Linked DNA regions of Homo sapiens: region 2 is linked to region 1. Evidence: promoter capture Hi-C in 16 types of primary human blood cells and fetal thymus (Javierre and others, 2016). All regions are on one chromosome and are shown on one strand. The core of a region is centred on a gene start or on the middle of the fragment in contact, and the rest is flanking DNA. Distances in the headings are between cores, read along the strand shown.

Region 1 (6,652 bases), core at 2,915-5,414:
CCTCCTTACAAATACATTTTATATAATGTGAATGTGCTTCCTACCCTCTGGGCCTCTCTTCTTCCAGGTGTGTGGCTGGTCCACAAATACTCATTAAGGGCCTCCCAAGTGCCAGGGAAACACAAGAGAACTTGATCCATGCCCTCAAGGAGCAAACAGGAAGATGAGACAGTTGAGCAATTCTAACACAAGGCAGTAAGTGCTGCCTCCAAGCTCAGAAGAAACTCTTCCCACCATAGCCTGAGAATACCAAGAGGTATTCCTTGGATGTTAAAGAATGGAATAAGAGCTTCCCAGGCAAGGACAAGAGTTGGGGAAGATCATTTCAGGCAGAGGAAAAAGCAGGTATGATGGCGCAGACAGACAGAGCTTATGAGAAATCAGGAGGAAATTCAGTGTGGCATGAATTAGGGAATCCCTCTTCTTGGACCTGGCCTTTAAGAAGGGGCTCAACTTCTAAACTTTGCCTTTTTTTTTTTTTTTTTTAGATGGAGTCTCACTCTGTCCCCCAGGCTGGAGTGCAATGGCGCGATCTCGGCTCACTGCAACCTCCGCCTCCGGGGTTCAAGCGATTCTCCTGCCTCAGCCTCTTGAGTAGCCAGGACTACAGGCATCTGCCACCACGCCCAGTGAATTTTTGTAGTTTTAGTAGAGACGGGGTTTCCCCATGTGGACCAGGCTGGTTTCGAACTCCTGACCTCAAGTGATCCACCCGCCTCGGCCTCCCACAGTGCTGGGATTACAGGCGTGAGCCTTGAACATGGGCAGAAAAGTCCTGATATCTGCCAGCAAATTATTTTCACCCCTACAATCACATTTCAGTATCATAAATGTGCCTTTAAGTAATCATGGCAGAAGCCGGTCTCCCCACCTTAGAGAAACTGAGGAGGAAAATGGTCAAAATAACCAAGCCTAGTTTACCCAAGACATTAGCGAAGCAGAGGAAAAAGGACCGACATTGACTCCAGCACAGGGCTCTTTCTCAGATGCAAGTATTCCCCTAGAAAGCCTTCCCTTCTCTTCTCCCTGAAGGTGGTGGCCTTAACATCGCCTCTAGGCCTGCTTCCTTCAGGCAGCTTCTGCTTCCAGCCCTAACCTGTGCTGCCAGTGTCCTCTTAACCTCACTCAAAGGTCAGAGGGCAAGAAGCTGGACAGTGTCTGAGCCCACCACCCCTTATCTCTCCATCTCCCATGCGCTGCATGTCACACAGCCCGTTATCACACCATTGTAGAGTTGTGGCTGGTTTCTTGTGACCATGTTTCCTGGTTCCCATCCTGGTACATTGACATGCCTGTATCTGCATCTGCTTGCTCTCCTCCTTAAATTGTAAATTTCCTAAAAGCAGGAATGAAATTTTATTCCCCAGCTCACTGCACCTCCATAGAACCACACTCAAGTCAAGCAGTACTGTTGGAAAACATCACCATTCCTTAGGTTTAAACGTTGAAGGGGAAAGTCGTGATTACAAAGTGGAACTTGGCTTAAGGCTAAAAGTAGGACCATATAATTTATTGTCACATCTTGACACTTTTGAGAGTGAAGGGGGTGCTATTCATAACCACCAGAGACAACTTAGAAACCAGGTCTGCCCCAGGGAAACACAGAGGCAATGGTCATCCTTGCTAGAAAGATCATTCCAAATAGATGTTAGTTACTCCAGAGTTCCAAGAGGGGCACCTCAAACCCCTTCAGTCACCAACCTGTGCTTGCATTCTGAAGGGTCTGCACCAGATAGAACTTGTGGCAGAAAGCCCAGTACAGGGAAGTTCTTCCTTTTATCTGACTCAAATCCTTACAGATTCAAATTAATTCCACTTCTTATTAACCTCAGAGCAAGAGGCAACAATGGCATAGGAAGGCAGCCACAGAGAAGAAAAATCTCACCCTTGTACCCTCACCCTCCGGTTAGGAATTCCTCATTATGAGTTTGACTGCTAGTTCTCCATCCTTCAGCTGAACCAAACTCAATCTGGCTGGCCCAGAAACTCAAAAGCCCAGGGTTTGGGAGTCACTCCCAGTGAGAACAGAGTTCATGTCCAACCTGCCCCACATCCCCTGGAGCTTTTCATAAACCAAACCCAAGAAAGAAATGGCACATGTACACATATTTTTGAAACCAGAAAACTTTTTCCTCAACCTAAACTATAGCTTCAGGGGACCTGAGCACTGGGAGGGATTGTCTCCCACCAGCCCCCAACTCCCAGTTCCCAGAATGCTGATTCAAGAGCACAGCAGAGCTGGGCTGACTGCGGAGGCCCAATGAAGAAGTGGGCCACTCCTCCTCCTTCTCCCACCCTCCATCAGCCCCATGCTGGTGTCGCTGTTAAGAGCAAGGACCTTGATGACTTCTTTTTGTTCATACACATATTTGTCATATGGGGTGGGGACAGGGGGACAAGGATCTGGGCCCAAGAGGAACTGAGCATGCAGGTTCCTGCAGCCTGTGGCCACCATTAGTTACATGCCCTGGGGCACACATTCTTGCCCAGGGACCAATAGTGGAGGGAAATCCAACGCTCCCACCCAGTCACCACCATCCTTTCCCCCTTTATACCAGATCTATTTTATTTTAGAAAGGAGGTATTTCAGCAGCATTGCATAAAGACAGGGTGACTGCAGTCAAGCAAAGGTCACTGAGACAATGCAGACAAAAACTAGAGAGCAGGCCACCTTCCCGGTATGACCTTGGACTAGTCACTTCACCATTCCACGCTTCAGTTTCTTCACCAACAAAATGACACAATAGGGTGATATGTTTACAAGGTTCGTCCTGGATCCAAGGGTTGAACATTTAACTCTGTATTTCCTGAAGAAATGGCTAAAGTGAAATTAGTGAGAAAAGGCAGAACTCAGGGTAATCTTTTATTAATAATTTCTACTTCAAAAGGAACAATTTGACTCTAGAAAACAAGTGTATTTACCCCCTCCTCTGGTCCTACTTTTTCTCCCCCACCGACCTTATACTTTTGCTGATGTCAATCTTAACTGCAGGACTGGGAGTCTCATGAGGCAATAACACGGTCAAATTAATTTTGCCAGTGCTGATCCTAACCTACAAACTCCATCTGCAATTCCTCGCAGTAAGTCTGACCATAAAAGTGAAATTCACGTTACTTATGATCTAATAAACCTATTGCCTGGGTAGAAATAAATCACTTATAGAATAATAATGCCCACCAAATTTCCTGCAGTCCTTTCAAATCTCCAAGTGCCATGAGGGGTATTCCTCTCCAAAATAAAGTTATCTTGACGGGGGTGGGAGAGTCAGCATCTTGAAGGGTGGGGAAGAAGGAATGGAGAGCATCTCACACGCTCGCCAAAAATTAAAAATTAAAAATTCAGCCTTTACACACGCACACACATACACACACCTCTTGTCTGACTGTACAGAGATAGTCGACAAGCTTTCAGGTTTGCCCACTTTTATTGTGCTAATAATGCTAAGTGTGGAAACCCCCACCTCGTGCTGTTCTGTGTAAGTGTACCGCAACTGCAGGGTGCTCGCCTCCACTGCCAACTGATGATACACTAAAGAAAGCCCGTTTTTTATCCAGATGTAAAATGAAGCTGCACCCCTCCTATACCTGCCGGAAACTACATCTCTCTGCACACACCCTGGGGTAATACGCACTGCACCCGGCGAGTTACCTGGAATACGTTTACTAAATCGACAGGAAGAAGGAAAGATCAATGCGATTCAAGTGCTGACGGTTGTACTCGTGAAGGAAAAAAACAAATGCAAGCCGGGAAGTCCCCAGTGGTGCCTGCACCTAGGAGGCGACTGCAACGGATGGATGCGGGGGTGAGGAAGTGCAGGGAGAGGAAAAAACTGGAGGGAGGCGGGTTGCAAAACTGCTCACCTGTCCGTACACCTTGATGGGCTCGGGCTGCAGGGCAGCGCTCCGTTTCCTCCGGAGCGGCTTCTCGTCCGCGCGGCTCGCCCCCCTGGCATCCCCGCGCGCCCACAGCCGCAGCTCGCGCGGGTCGCCCTGCACCACGAGGAAGCCCCGGTCCTGGGGCAAGGGCGCGCTGCCGCCGTGCAGCCTCTGCGTCCAGACTTCGCAGAGAGCTCCGGGCGGCAGCAGTGCGACCAGGGTGAATAGGAACGGGAGTCGCGACTCCCTCCTGCTGCTCCGTGTCGCCATGTTCGGGCGAACGCTACTGCAGGTGGCGCCGCCGCCAGGAGAGAATGTGCAGCGCGAGGCCAGGAGAGCCGCTGGGCCGGGACCGCGCGCGCCGCTCCCGGGGCTCCAGGCCGCCCGCGCCGCTCCGGGCCGCCCCGCTGCGCCCGCCGCCGCTGCCGCCAGGTCCCGCTCGGTTCGGCGCGGCGCCGTCACGTGTGAGGCTCGCAGCGCGTCCCTTTCGCGCACTTTCTGCGCTCGGCGGCCTCGGCGGCGACTCCGGCCCCTCCCTGGCGCGGGGATGGGGAAGTTAAGGCAGCGAGCGCCGGTGGGGGTGCGTCCCTTCCCTGGCGGGCACACCTCCTTGTTCTCCCTGCAGGAATGAAGAGTTGCATGGGGCTCGCTCGTTTTCTCTGGAGTTAGTTGCGTCCTATACAGGGTCGTGTCGAGGTCGTCCTAAACCGTGGCCACTTTCCTGAGTGCACAGCCCGCAGTAGCGCCACAAGACCACCTCCCCCCGGCCCCGGCCTCATCCCCACCTCCAGGGAAGAGTCCAGAGCCACAGAATTAGCTCCTAGAACGCAACCAACAAGAGTCCAGATGAACCCGCTCTATTGGGAAACTCACAGTTTTTCATCTACTCTGGGCACCACAACGTATTTGCAGGGGCCACAGCAAAAACTACCCTTGATCAAGCTACGTGCCCCAGCCTGAAGCACAGCAAATAAACATCCTGCACAGAGGCAGTAAAAACAAGGGTACATCTGACAAAGAATGCACCACACCTGGACAATTATTACACAGCTATACAGGGTGTGCTTGCACGCACGCATGAATACCTGTGCGTGGCACAGGGCCCCAGCGGCGGCTTGCTTATGATCCCTCCAAGGTGACCAAGCACTGAGCCACCCTGCCTCAGCAGTAAAATAGACATATTTACCAGTCCCTTCAACCCACAGCCAGGAGCTAGGCAAACACCCACAGAGGAGGGAGGACACACTTTAACCCTACATTCAGCTTGACGAGCCAAACTCTCTGAACCACAGGAGATAAAACTTCTGCCATGGAACTGCTAAGGTACGCCCAAGGAAAATATTTTTTTTGCAGGTTAGTGGGAGCAGCCAAAGTCTATGTACTACTGCAACCTTTCCTATTTCATTTTATGTTTCACTGCCCTCTGAACTCAGATCCTGGTTTTTGATAAGAATAAAGACACAGCAAGCAGGGCTGAAAGGGAGACTACCTTTATAGTTGCATACAAGCTGCTGTTCAGGGGAAGGAAGGGATGGTCAGTTCAATTTTCTAAAAACATTCCTCATCTCCGACAAGCCACGGTAGCCCGATTCCTACCCCGGCCCACTCTAGTACTTTTCAGGTAGCTTAGCAAAGCCCCCTCCTCTACCTAGGACTACCACTGACAACCTGCCAGAGTCAGGCCAGCTTGCCTCATCTCCCTGAAGCCAGTATTCAACCACCCTACCCTACCCCATGCCAGACTTGCTGGGGACCTCTGCCTCAGGTTCTGCACTCTCCCACCTCCTCCCACACCCGATTTTCTCCCCAAGTCAGATGATGTCTTTCTGTCCATCTCAACATAATTACAGAACCATCCAGTTCTCCCCACCAAGCAAATCATGCATTCTCTATGTTAACCACCCTGCTTTGTTCATTATACATTGTATACAGGTATCAAAATACCACACTTTCCCCAGTGTGGTATTATTGGGGTGCCTTCATCCTGCACCCCAACTTTGATGTTATTTCAGAGGGATTGAGGAAGTGGTAGCTTGTTTACAACCCAGAGCTGGTTTTGAAGCTGAGAGGAACGCCTTGCTCATATTGTGCAATTCAGCTCTAACTCATATATATAACATATATATTTATTATATACTTATATATGTCAATTAAAAATAATAATTCAAACAATCATGCATCCTCCAAGAAAGCCACTGAACCACTGTCACCTCCCACCCCTCATCTAGATCAGCTCTGTCTGGTCAGCATCACCTTACCAGGAATGGACAACCCCATGGTCTCTCAGGACCAGCAGCAAAGATATCTCTACTCCCATTTAGCCCTCAAAGGAAAATGAAGGGAATATGGCTAAAGTGAGAACATCCTGTAGATGATTCAATTATTGGGGTTTTTCCAACATATATTTAATGAGAACCTTCTCTGCAAGAGCAAGTGTCAGAGTCCCAGCAGAAAACAGAGACAGGAGTCTCCTAAGTGTGGATTTGAAGATGGGCATCTGTTTGCCCACACAAACTGCTGGCTTAAGGTTCAGATGGCCCCTTGCACAGAAGGACTAGTAGGGCAGGGCCAGCTACTTGCTCATTTTGATGTTGATTTGCAACTTGAATGCTAGAGAATTGGTAAGAATATTCAAACATGGTTAATTAACTCCTTGCAAGCCCTCCTATCTAATCATTATCTACATTCCAAACCATTCTCAGGTAGATAATCAGCAACCCCCCAAGACTGTGCCTGCTGCACAACTACAGAACGCAGTGGAAGACACGCTGAATTC
Region 2 (6,341 bases), core at 464-2,963, 800 kb before region 1:
TTGCTAAATTATCATTTCCTCTGGGTCTCATAGAAAGAGGAACAATAAGTGGACAGGCTAGAGCTGTAGTCTTGATAGCTAGCCCTAGGAGTAGGACAACTAGAAGTGGGATAGTCACTGCACTCTCCTTGTCCAGGGCTTCTGGTTGTTGGAGAGCAAAGAGCTTTGGTCTTAAATGTGGTCACATTCACATTGTTGTCTGATGCAGTCACAGATAATTAGTGGCAAGTGTTTTATTTGTTGTTCTTTGAAGGACAGAATTTCATGAAAGTCACTGAAAAATCAAATCAAATGAAATATTATTCACACCAGGGACACAATTAAAGGCCTTAAAAGAATAGTGCCATTTTGTTTGGACTTCATGAAGCCATCAAAATGCTAGGGAAGGAAGAGCCCTTCTTCTACCTCTTTTCTTCCTTTTCCATCCCAATCTTGTACCTTGAAAATTTTGATGTAGTCCAAACTCTGTAAGGATCAATGTAACTGCAGCATTAGGGGACTCATAAGAGAGAACAGGCCAACAATAGTGGTGATCAGCAAATGAGATCCATGAGTTCCAGGGCAGCCAGAATTTCGGTCATGAAACAGAGGAGAGACATGATTAGCAGCATCAGAGGGGAAGCTCAGCCCTTTAGGACAAAAATGTGAACTGCCAGGGGCCCAGAGATGGGCTTAGAGAAGCTGAGCGCCCCACAGATTTGCCAGGGGGACACTCAGTGTGTATCTCTCACCCTCTTCCATTCTAACATTCTGGCCCTTTGAGGTCTGAGAAACTGACTTATACTTAATTACTTATTCATGTGGCTGCATTGTCGCCTGTGTAGAAGTAAGCATCTTATCTCAGATTTTTCCTGATGCCTTTGAGAGAGACAGAAGGTGAGATGAAAGGAAAAAAAGACATGCCATCACTTACTGCCCTTGAGGAGTTTCAGTCATGTCACAGAAGCTGTAGGCACAATGTTGACAGAAGTGCCAGAATCGTCAATTCTAAGAGAAAAGGTTGGATGGAAAACTTCACTGAAGGCTTGGCTGAGACCTTGATTCATATCAACTGTTATTAGAGAAGAGCTCCTTCACAAAGCTATGCCATGGCGCCCCTGAGGAGCATATTTTTCAGGAATGTGGACCTGAATATTCATTAGAATGTACTTTCATGTGTTTTCTCATGACTGAATAAAAAAAAAAATCCACAAGTGCCCTCAGAGAACCTTTTCTATAAGATGTAGCCAAAGCAGGCAGAGGTCTCATACAAGTGTTCTGAGAAGAAGATGAGGGCATAAGATGCCAAGAGTTGATTGAAGGAGTATACATAACCCACACTATTAAGAAGTCACACTTGACTGGTTGCAAGCTAATGAATGAATTGAATAAAGTAAAACAAAAGTAAAGCATTTAAACACATGTTAACATGTATGCAAGCACACACACACACACACACACACACACACACACATGCACATATTATTTGACTCAAAAGTCTGTTAGTTTCCATATTGGAAAAACTTAACCAATCAATTCATATTAATTAGAAGGCAAAACAGATATAGGAGAAACTGATTTCATGCATCTGATGTCAGAGATGGATTGAGCACCAAATAGTCATCCACATATTGGCATTGTTGATAGGTTTTTGGAATATCAAAAATATAGGTCCTCAAACTACATATGAATAGTAAGTGTTTGGAATAAGAGTTCCTCATATTTTAGAATCATTATGTGCTTCATCTTGACTGAAGAGTTCCATTAAAGCCAAGAATGATGCTTTTGAGACAAGAAAGCAAAGCAGAGATTCTCTTACCAAAATGTAACCAAGAACTGCCTTGGAGTTTGTTTAAATGGCAGATCCCTCAGCCTCATAAAGAGAGATTAGGATTCAGAAAGCATCGAGTAGGGCTTCAGAATCTCATCTTTGCACAAGTGCTCAGATGATTCTGGACCATTGATCTATGGTCACCATCACACTAATGGAAAATATTAATTTAGCCATTTCCAATGTATTTATTCTGTGAAAACTAATTGGAACTTCACATGTGCCAAGCACTGTGTCCAGGAGACACAGTGAGATAAATAATTACACCGTTTCTGTAATCAAGAAGTTCAGGGTTGAGTGGAGCTTAAGTCTTTAGAGGGCAATTTACTTGTTGCTACCTCTCATTGTATTAGTCCGTTCTCACACTGTTATAAAGAAATACCCAAGACTGGGTAATTTATAAAGGAAGGAGTTTTAATTGACTCTCAGTTCTGAATGACTGGGGAAGCCTCAGAAAACTTACAGCCATGGTGGAAGGTGAAGGAGAAGCAAAGGCACATCTTGCATGGTAGCAGGCAAGAGAGAGAATGAGTGCAAGAAAAACGACCATATTTATAAAACCATCAGATCTCGTGAGAATTCACTCACTATCATGAGAACAGCATGGAGGAAATCACCCCCATAATCTAATCTCTTTCCTCCCTTGACACGTGGTGATTATAATTTGAGATGAGGTTTGGGTGGGGACACAGAGCCAAACCATATCACTTATCCTATATCAAATAACATTAATACCATAACAAACTAAACTGAGGGCAGACATGTGTCTCATTTGTGCCCACGGGGTTTTAATTTATGGAGATTACCAAGTGGTGACATGGGGAAGCTCATGCCATGGAAAGAACATTTTTCTCCCTTGCATTCCCAGAGAAGGGCCATGTCATGCTACACAAGTGCACATGGGGAGCACGAGTATTGGTCACAAGGCAGAAAGTGGAGAGAGGAGAATCTAAGCCAAAGCCTCTCTTTATGGGGTTTCCAAAGGAAAGGCAAGGCAGGGCAGAGTAAGCAGTTTTGGACTGGCTAGTTTGAATAAAATTCTAGAGGGCTTCGGGCTATAGGGGTAGTCCTTAGATGCCTAGTATCTGGCTGTCTTTGTCATTTTAATGTTGCTATAACAGAATACCGGAGGCTGGGTCATTTATAATTTATAAAGAAAAGAGATCTATTTGGCTCATGATTCTGGTGGCTGGAAATTTCAAGGTTGGGCAGCTGCATCTCATGAGAGCCTCATGCTTCTTCAACTCATGGTGGAAAGTGGAAGGAGGGAGAGTATGTGCAGAGATCACATGGCAGGAGAAGAAGCTAGACCCTTTTTAACAACCTGTTCTCATGGGAACTAACCTATTAGCAAGAGTGAGAACTCCCTCACCTTCTCAGAAGGACATTGATCTGTTCATGAGGGATCCACCCCACTGACCCAAACACCTCCTACCAGGCCCGACCTCTCAACACTGCCACACTGGGAATCAAATTTCAACATGAGTTTTGGCAGGAACAAACCACACCCAAATCATAGCACTGGTCCTGGGATGATTTAGGGCAGAAGAAATATTGGCTTTGTATGTGAGAGTTAGATAAAGGGGGTGGTCGGCTTGCATATGAGAGACATGCACTCAAGTAACTTGTTTACTATCTTTAGGAATTAGCTAACCCTGGAAGGGACAGTCTCTTTTTGGGTATGTAAGACCCTCAAATGCCGTAACATCAAGAATATAGAAAATTTAAAAACGTAGCAAATATAATTGGCCCTGTGCTGAATGGATGCCAAATAGACAAATACAGAATCTAGGAAAATGCAGAATAACACAATATTCTCTAATCATGTTTATTATATGCAAATACCTTAAGAAATGGCAAAAGCAAGGTTATTTGGCATAAAGCAATTAAATGTGAATGTTGTATGACATAACCTGCAATCTACATCCACCATCTAATAAAGCATTTTTCTAAAATAAATTTGGTAGCTTAGATTTGATTACTTAATACCACAATCCAGTTCTATGCTGCCTGGGTCTTATCTCATCTCTTTGAATTCTTTTCCAAGTGGTAAACTAAAATTTTTGCATAGAATGGAGAATTGAGACCACTGGTTTACCACCCACTGGAAAAAATTAGTGCCTAAATCCTATAAAACAAGTTTTGGCTAACCAAGACAGAATGTGATAATCCAGGTCATTTATGAAATACGTTAAACTATTTGTGTGAGCAGGCTTAAGGCCTTATCTTGGTACCATAGAAAGTATATTGTTCTCCATTTTGGGACTATGGAATCCATGGCACCAATTATTTTAAGTAATCTTTTTTTTTTTTTTGAGATGGAGTCTCGCTCTGTCATCCAGGCTGGAGTGCAGTGGTATGATCTCGGCTCACTGCAAGCTCTGCCTCCTGGATTCATGCCGTTCTCCTGCCCCAGCCTCCCGAGTAGCTGGGACTACAGGCGCCCACCACCACGCTCAGTTAATTTTTTGTATTTTTAGTAGAGATGGGGGTTTCACCATGTTAGCCAGGATGGTCTTGATCTCCTGACCTTGTGATCTGCCTGCCTCGGCCTGCCAAAGTGCTGGGATTACAGGCGTGAGCCACCGCACCTGGCCTTAAGTGATCTTTTAAGGTTACACCGAAAGTTAGTTGCAAAGCAGGGTATATTTCTACTCATGTGTACTCTCTATTAAGAATTTGCTATGAAACGTCCTTTATGTTTTCCCTTGACCAAGTTTCCTGGGGGAGGTGGGAATGACTAAGATATATGTCTATGAAAGAATGAATATTGATGATATATTATGTAAGGCTCAGTGAAAGTTGTGAATTCACCAGATGCTTGGAAAGTCAGCAGCTTCTCTATTATGCATTTCCTTGGCTTAAGCTTGGAGGTTTTCCAAAAAAACAATTGCAGAAGCAAGAGGGAGGACCTGGTATGAGGAAGTGTGTGTGTGTCTGTGTGCATGTGCATGCATGTGCATGTGTGTCTGTGTGTGTGTAAACTCGAACTTGTTTAAATGATAAATGTGTGAGCAACTTTCAAATCTTCCTTAAACTGAATGATGAGCTTGAATTTTACAGGAAATCAAATTAGAAGCTGAAAAAAACCTGGATTCTTACTTCTAAGCAAGCTGCCCTCTAGGCAGTCATTTATACGGGAACCAGGTCCTTACTGCTAAGTTTGCTTAGCAACACATTTTCTTGATGACGGTTCTCAAAGCAGAGGGAAGTGAATGGAGGTTTGATTAACCACAGGCCATAATGGCTATATCAGTTTCTTTTGTAAGTGAAAGATTGTCTTTGCATATTCATAAGGGGGGTGTCTAAGCAGCACCGCTGGAGCTGTCAAGGCCTCTAAGCTGTGTTGGATTAGTAAGTGTATGGGAGGCCTCCCAATGGGTGGCCCTGGGGACATTTTTTCACAATCAAGGAATTCAGATTGTACAGAATTTACTCACTGTAAAAGTTGTTAGGCGTAGAAGGAGGTTATAGAATTTATTTTTCCCATAGATCTTTAAGGACAGGACAGAAACTCACTGAATAGATTGCATTCAATAAAATCCTAAAGCCTTTGAAATTAACTATTACTAGGATGGAAGAGCTAAAGGAAACGTAGAAACTGAGAAGCATGAAAGTCAATCCAATTATCTCAGCAGCTGAGGGTGGGGGTTAGTATATAAATTGAACATCGTGTGGGATTAAGGATACATTTTGTATTTTAGGATAATACAGATTTCCCTAATAATATACTACTGTAATGAGCTTGGCCATTACAGACCTACCCTGTTAAATATATTAATACCAGACTCATCTGAATTAGGAAAATAAATATGAGGTTTATGTTACAGTTTGAGTATCCCTTATCTGAAATGGTTGGGACCAGAAGTGTTTCAAATTTGAAATCTTTTTCAGATTTTGTAATATTTACATACGTAATGAGATATTTTGGGATGGGACCCAAATCTAAATATGAAAATTCATTTATTTCACATACACCTTATACACATAGCCTAAAGGTAATTTTATACAATATTTTAAATAACTATGTGCATGAAAAAAAGTTTTGACTGTGACTCATCACCTGAAGTCAGGTGTGGAATTCTCCACTTGTGGCACCTTGTTGGCACTCAAAAAGTTTCAGAATTTGGAATATTTAAGATTTTGGATTCTCAACCTGTATTTATACCAAAGTCAACCAATTGTTAAATAAATTTATACTAAGTCAACCAATTGTTGAGATAAAGTTTTATTTCATTTTATAATTTTTTTCTTTTAGAATTATTTTTAAGTGCATTATCTCATTTTACCCTCCAAACAGGTTTAACTAAATGATAAGGATCCAGGATAGATTATTTATATCCTGTTTTAGAATTATTGGCAAAGCTAAGATTAGAATCTGATGTTCTTCCCACTAACTTCACATTGCTTCCTTCCAAACACTTTCTAATTTTGGCATTGTCTAATTCTCCAGCTTTGCAAAAGCACTATTATGTCAAAGACTATTGCATTCTAGAGACTTGGCTCCAGAGATGCCATCATGGCTACCTGT

The links. Contacts are between HindIII fragments. The CHiCAGO score rates a contact against its expected background, and 5 or more counts as called.
Region 2: a fragment that was not itself captured here is called in contact with the fragment with the promoter of SORL1 in region 1 in 1 of 17 cell types (monocytes); the score reaches 5.4 in monocytes.

What each region holds. Positions count from the first base shown.
Region 1 is chr11:121,449,826-121,456,477 of GRCh38, reverse strand. It overlaps SORL1 (sortilin related receptor 1), which reads right to left and starts at 4,164. Exons shown (of 48, transcript NM_003105.6): 1 at 3,862-4,164. The coding sequence starts at 4,146. It overlaps SORL1-AS1 (SORL1 antisense RNA 1), which reads left to right and starts at 3,511. Exons shown (of 3, transcript NR_183636.1): 1 at 3,511-3,803; 2 at 6,579-6,652. RefSeq lists silencers at 2,154-2,203, 4,048-4,097, 4,228-4,277 and enhancers at 3,328-3,377, 3,398-3,467, 3,508-3,557, 3,568-3,757, 5,148-5,207. The HindIII fragment of the contact is 8,160 bases long and covers 3,408-6,652 here.
Region 2 is chr11:122,252,459-122,258,799 of GRCh38, reverse strand. The region is part of intron 2 of MIR100HG (mir-100-let-7a-2-mir-125b-1 cluster host gene); the gene reads left to right. Among named protein-coding and RNA genes, the nearest start is that of MIR100, 100 kb to the right of the region's middle. The HindIII fragment of the contact is 5,931 bases long and covers 1-4,678 here.